Regions from separate parts of the Homo sapiens genome. Here region 1 is linked to region 2. Evidence: promoter capture Hi-C in 16 types of primary human blood cells and fetal thymus (Javierre and others, 2016). All regions are on one chromosome and are shown on one strand. Each heading gives the region's core, a stretch centred on a gene start or on the middle of the fragment in contact. The rest is flanking DNA. Distances are from core to core; before and after follow the strand shown. Region 1 overlaps SAMD4A (sterile alpha motif domain containing 4A). Region 2 holds the start of SAMD4A (sterile alpha motif domain containing 4A).

Region 1 (3,478 bases), core at 936-3,435, 100 kb before region 2:
TGGGCATCCCGAAAGCAGGTGAGAATTCAGTGGACTTCCAGAGTGTTCCTTCTAAGCAGCTGAGAGGTTAAATGAAACCAGTCCAAATTTCCAGTGCTAAAAGCAGCAGGCAGCCCGCTATGCTGACGCTGCCGTCACAAAACCCATGGTTGAGTACAAGGTAGCCATTATTTATTCATGATCCTGAGAATGTTTTTATTGCCTGTATTGTTTTCTAACTTTGGAAGCACCAAATAAGGATGACTTTTGGTGCAAGGTAGGAGCCAGGACTATTTATATGATCTCATTCTTTCTTACATAATATATTAAACAGGCCCTTTAGGCCTGAGCGTGAAAGAGCCAAATTCTAGCTCTGGACAAACATGTGCTGCTCCCATTGAAATTGGGGTGACTTGGCTGTCAGACAGCTGTGGGGCAAACTTTACTCTTCAGCAAGGATATGATGGATAAAGAATAGTTTCCAAGCATGGATTATAGTGCTCTGGAAAAGAGCCACTGGAGGAATATGAAAGTAAATTCCTTTAAAGCCCAAATCAGCAAATACTTCCCATCATTTACAAATATGCTTGTCTACCTTCCAAGCCTGCAAGGTAACCTTCGAGAAAGGGTCCCAGGTACCTCTCTGGAGATCATTCAAGATCTCTTCCGGTGAGTCTCTAATGCCGGCAAAATGTATCTTGGGCCAGAAAATCACTCTCCTAACTGTTAACACGGTGATATTTCACTCTTAGTCACTTCGTGGGAAGATGCATAGCTGGTTTCAGAGCAACAAATTACTTTACAGTTGCACTTCATCATTTCATTGTTCCCATGTTACAGACAGACATTTTATGGTAATTGATCTTGATTTAGTACATACATAGACTTATTTACATGCTACCTTGTACCAAAAAGAATTTTAAATGACTTACATGTGGTCTTAGAAATTGCCCTACATCCTTATAACCCTTAAAAAATAATACTATTCTTGTCTAATAAGTTAGATTTAAAAAAAATTCATGATAACCTTTATGCAGCTAAAGTTAAAAGCAGATCAAACCTAGTGTTCAAATCCTCCAATTTTTAATTTGGAAAACAAATCCCAGGATGACAGGGCACCCTCTCAGGGGCCCTGTGAACCTTAGTCAGCCTTTTCTGAAGTCTTACGGAATTCCAGCTATAGATAGGTAGAAGAGGAGGCAGAGAGTGACAGATTCCACATCATGACAAAGTGAGACGTCTGCAGATGACTGAAAATAGTCTCCCACGGTTGGTTTTAATCTTCCCACCTTCCCTCCACCCTCGTACACCCTTCTGCGCTTAGGAAGAGTAAAGATGACTGCATTTAAGTGGCTGACAGGCATCCCAAGGCTCGAAAAAATTTAAAAGAGGGAAAAAAACACAAAAAAAACAGCTGGATGTGGTGGCATATGCCCGTACTCCCAGCTACTCCAAAAGCTGAAGTGGGAGAATCGCTTGAACCCAGGGGTTCCAGTCCAGCCTGGGCAACAAGGCAAGACCCCATCTCAAAAAAAAATAAATTTAAATTAAAAACAAAAACAAATTCCAAAGCAGAATGGCTGACTATACCCTGAAGAAAAAAAAAAAAAAAAAAACACTATAAACAGAAAAGGAAGCAGTAGATGGGGGTAATGGTGTGACATTTTCCTTCTCCCCATCTCCCAATCTCCCCCTAACACTACTCTCCATTCCTGCCCCCACCCCAATGCCTCTGCAGCACCACCCCTTCTCTTGCCCCAAAGTTCAGCTTCCTGCTAGGGCCCTGTCGCACCTCTTCCCTGAGGTGTCAATTCAGGCCTATGCGTTGAGCCCTGATAATCCAAGCTTTGATTTCATGCCTGCTGGCAGCTGGTTCATTGCCACATTCACTGGCACTGAGATGTAGAAACCTACTCTGAGACAGGTTCAGATTCAGGCTTCACACACACCCACTACAGAATTCTGGAAGACTGAGTTCGTTCCACGTGTTCAGTAAAGTCCAAGATTCTAGGCCTGACACTTGTCCCAAGCTGCCCTCTGCACCTCTCACCTTCTCTAACCCTGTGCCTCACTCAGCCCAGCCTCTGCCTTGGCTGTGCTTCCTCCTGGACAAACACTGCCCACCTCTCCTTGAAGGCCAAATCTATACCTGTCCTTTGACAAACTCATTTAACAATCACTCCCATTGCACTCACTAGGTGCTGTTCTAAGCACTTTCCATATCTCACTTAATCCTTACAACACCCCTAGGTACTATTATTATCCAGATTTCAAAGATGAGGAAGCAGAAGCATGGAGATGGGACCTAGCTTGCACAAGAAGCCACAACAAATAAGTAGTAAAGCCAAGGTTCAAACCCCAGAATCTGTGTCCCTAACAGTGATGCTGCTGGGCTGGGCTGCCTCTTCCATAAAACTCCCATGTCCCAACTCCAGCTAAAATTACTTTTTCCTTCCAAGTTCCAGAGCCCTTCAGTGATCTTTCTCTTACGATCTAACCATTTTCTGCCTCACTTTCGCCACACTTATCTTTCATTTTTCATCTTTCCTGGCAGATGGTAAGCTTCTTGAAGACAGAATCCATGTCTGATTCAACTTGGGTCCCCTCAGCCACGCCTGAGCTCTGCACATCCTCGGTGGGTGCCTGTCAATATTTATCGGTGGAAGGAGGGGAAAAAGAATTCACTCAGCTAAGGGATCTCCTGCTGGAATGAGGAACACTTCCTTCTTTGTGTTCATCTCTATGTGGCTGCAATGTTTATATTTACTTTTGTTGTTTTAGGAGCAATTTTAGCTGCTATTGGTAAGGAATGCAGGTAGTCTTGAAGGTCAAAGCTATGTCTTATGAGCATGGGAGGCAACAGCAGTTAAGTTCTCCTCTGTTCCCTCCACATACAAGAGCTACTTGTAGAGGTGGTAACAATGATATGAAGACAACAATTGCAGCAATAACAACAGCTACCATCAATCACATACCACGTGCTAGGCACTTTATATCCTATATTTGTAATTCTTTCAATAAGCCTACAAGCCAGGCTTTATTATCCTTATTTTACAGATGGGAATTGTGATTCAGAAAAGTTAAGTCATTTGGCCGAGGTCAAAAGCTGGTAAAACATAATGCTGAGGCTTGAACCCAGTTCTGCCTCCCCCAGGCTTCGTCTGGCTCCGTCCTCTACACAGCAATGCCTTTCTTAGCCCTGAAGGAGCTTCGCTTTCTGTAAGAGTTAAGAAAGGCAAGTCACCTGGGCCCATTCATTCTTGGCTTCCTGGATTTCGTGGTTTTGGTCTTTTATGTGAAAAGCTACCCTTACACATGCACATTTCTTCCAAGAAACCAGATGAACGGTAACCTACTTTCACAAAGCTCAGAGAGTCCTTAATGCCTAGGAACAGACTGGACGGCGATCACAAAAATGTACTAAGAGATTTACAAGAGGGTGGTGCAGATGGGGGCGGGGAATGAGGGATGGGGCCAGACAGACTTGCTTGGGGTCAGA
Region 2 (3,184 bases), core at 628-3,127:
CAGGATATAATTTCAGTCTGTCACCACCCACGCTAGCAAATAGGAAACTGCTGGACCTTTCGACTATATTCACTTTCCATACTAGTTGAGGTGTCTGTAAATACTAGCAGGGTAATATGAAACGATTCTGTTCTATTCAGTAAAGTTTCCTAACGAAAAGCATTAAGTAACCCACTTCATGCCTGTCCTTTCTCCAAGACCCTTTTTTTCTACAAGATCCGTATCAATATGGATAATGTCACGAGCAGTAAGCTTAACCGCATTATATATATATATATATATATATATATATATATATATATATATATATATATGCTGCAAATGTCATTTTACTAGTCTCTAGCGTCACCTGCATATTATTCTGAAGACGAAGCTCTAAAACCAGAATATCTGTGGGGAAAAATGAATAATAAAATTGGATTTTCATGTACTCCTCACACAGCCTTATCCAAGCTTGGCTTCTGAAGGGCAGTCCCGGGCATCTATCATGTGTTGCTGAAATCCAGCGAGCCACGTTGCCCAAAAGAAGGAGGAGGAAGGAAAAAACACACACACCCAGAAAATCCAGACTCTACGTGACCTGACTTACTTATTTCCCAGGAAACTGCATGAGAGAAAAATCAATCATTCATGCTACCGTAGCTACCACACGGAAAGGGCTGACGGAGTTCACAGTGGGCAAAATCCCAAAGCGGCCGGCGGAGGTAAGTAGGTGGGGGGCGGTAGTGGGGGGACACCCGGAGGGGGTGGATTCCGAGGGCCTCGGGGCCACGCCGTCCAGGTCCCGGCGCGGCTGGCAGGGACTGGCCTCGGCCTGGCCCGAGGCAGAGAAGCGGAGGGAGGAGCGGGGGTTGGGCAGGCGGGACGGCGGCGGCGGCCGCCGCACACTTACCGGGGCTGTTGGCCTCGCGTTCGAGGACGTGCAGCTCGGCGCAGTCGGCCAGCGAGTGCTCCAGGCAGAGCTGGAGGAAGCGGGCCTGGGTCTGGCTCACGCGCTTGAGCAGCGACAGCAGCGCAACAGTCTGCTCGCACTCGTTCCAGCCCTTAAACCAGCCCGCCAGCACCCCGACCTGGTCGCGAAACATCATGGTTAGGGGGCCGCCCTCGGTCTACAGAGCCCCCTGGGCGCCCCAGCCCGCCCCGCCCGCCCCAAAGTTTGGCGGAGCCGCAGCCCCGCGGCCGGAGACGCGTTCCTGTTCCAAGGTGGCTCTGGTGCCCGGACGCTGCAGGTACTGCCTGGGCTCCTGCCTCTCTTGTCTGGTTTCAGTTACGTTCCGGTGGTTCTGGCTGATTTCCCCAGAGACGATGACAGACAGTAGCACGGAAATGTTTCTTTAAAAAAAAAAACGACTTTTTAAAAATCCCCCACAAGGCACACAACTGAATGAAGAATGCTTTCTCCCCCCTTCTTGCAGCTTTGGGATGGTGATTTCCGGCGTCCTGGGGTCTCCTCCCCGCTGGGCGGCAACTCGGACCCTTCACGCCCGCATTCCCGAGCGGCGATCACCACTGGAAGGAGAGAAAGAGCTGCAGTGAGACCTCGGCTAGCGGAGGAGCGCGCCCTGGGGGGACGAGGGCATCAGAGGGTGCTGGGGCCAGGGGAGGGGGCGTCCCGCGGAAGGTTGGGTTCGCCGAAATCCAGCCGCCCCCTCCGCCCCCTCCGCACCCGATGTGGGAGATGGGCTATTCCCCACCGGGTAACAGCGAGAAGCCTGCTTCCCAGGTGCGGGAGGAGACCCCGCGGCTTCCTGTTGCTGCCGCTGCCAACGGCTGGTGCTCCCCTCACGGCCCGCCTGGGGTGGCCTCGGGCGCCGTGCTTAAGAACGCCAGCACCAGCAACAGATCTTCCCCGCGCAGAAAACTTGCAATGCGGCTGCGAAGGGGCGCGGGGGTGGGGGTGGGAGCTAATGCAAAGCAGAGGCGGAGGCAGCGGCAGCCCGAGTTCCTTCCTCCTCCTCTTACTCCTCCTCCTCCTCCCAGAGAAGCAGCCGAGCGGCTGCAGCTCCATCTACAGCAACAGCCAGCATCTCCACCGCCAGGCGCCCCTCTGGATTTAGGCCGTGAGCAGCCGCGGCAGCAGCTCGAGACAAAAATAAACTCTCTCCACCCAAAGCTCCGCGCCCAGCGGGCGGCGGCGCAACCCAGAGCCCCGGCTCCCCCGCGCCGCGCCGCACCAGCCCACCCGGGAGGTCTCCCTGGGCCTGCTCCGGCCGGAGCGGTCACTGTGCGCGCGCGTGTGCGTGTGTGTGTGCGCGCGTGTGTGGCAGGCATCCTGCCGCCGCCGCCTACGGGCTGGTCTGTCCGGCCCGGAGCCTCGCCCGCGCGTCGCAGGCCGAGGGCGGCACAGCGCTGGGCACACGCCCCGCGAGGGGACGGCCGGGGTCCGCAGCGCTGCTCCCTTCGGCCAGCGGGGCGGCCCCGCGGGGAATGCGGATCGGCGCCGCAGGCACACGCCCCCCAACGACAGCAAAGAAAGTTCGGCTGCGGGGGTTCCCCCAGTCCCATCCCGGTTCTCGTGGCCGCCGCCGGCGGGGAGGAGAACCCAGCGACTCAGCCTTCAAGGAGCCGCTAGCTTCCAACAACACGCTGCTTCCGGCTCCCAGAACTTCTCGGGCGGAGGGGGAAGCCCCCGGGGAGGGGACCCCCAGTGACCCGCGGGTCCCCCGCCGAGGGCCGTAGGGAGGGAGCGCTCACCTCGGCGCGGCTCATCCCGGCGGCTCGGGGGCCCTTGCGCGGGTCCGGGGCCGCGGCGGCTCTCAGCGGGGTTGGGGGCGCCCGGAGCGCCGGCCGCGGGCCATGCCGTCGGGGCGGGCGGCGCGGGGAGAGTGCGGTGCTTCGAGTCGGGGCCGCTGCAGCCGCCGCTGCTGCTGCCTCCAGTGTCGGCTCGCGGAGGACTGAGCCGCCCGAGCCGGAGCTCCCCACATGCTACTGATTAACATACACCATTACATCATGGGCTTGGCAGGGAGCGCCCGAGCGGGGGGAGAGGAACCCGGGCGGCGGCGACGGCACGCGGGGGGAGCCGGGGGGAGGAACCCCGGACCCGGCGCAGGGCGGGGGGACGGATTCCTAAGTGGGGACCAGAAAAAGGGGAGGGGAGCGGAGTGGGAGGAGCTGGTGGCGCAGAGGGGTCGGGTAGAAGGAACCTCCGAGAGGAACGAAGAAGTTCGGGGAAGAGGACGGG

The links. The method cuts DNA at HindIII sites, captures the fragments that hold promoters and counts their contacts. A CHiCAGO score of 5 or more calls a contact.
Region 1: a contact is called between a fragment that was not itself captured here and the fragment with the promoter of SAMD4A in region 2, in 7 of 17 cell types (M0 macrophages, M1 macrophages, megakaryocytes and 4 more). The highest score is 8.5, in M0 macrophages.

The regions. Positions count from the first base shown.
Region 1 is chr14:54,670,138-54,673,615 of GRCh38, reverse strand. All of the region lies in intron 2 of SAMD4A (sterile alpha motif domain containing 4A), which reads right to left. Among named protein-coding and RNA genes, the nearest start is that of SAMD4A-AS1, 16 kb to the left of the region's middle. The HindIII fragment of the contact is 717 bases long and covers 1,827-2,543 here.
Region 2 is chr14:54,565,821-54,569,004 of GRCh38, reverse strand. SAMD4A (sterile alpha motif domain containing 4A) reads right to left here and starts at 1,877. Exons shown (of 13, transcript NM_015589.6): 1 at 1,667-1,877; 2 at 893-1,509. The coding sequence starts at 1,088. RefSeq lists silencers at 846-905, 1,146-1,205, 2,046-2,235, 2,356-2,405, 2,966-3,095. The HindIII fragment of the contact is 5,259 bases long and covers 456-3,184 here.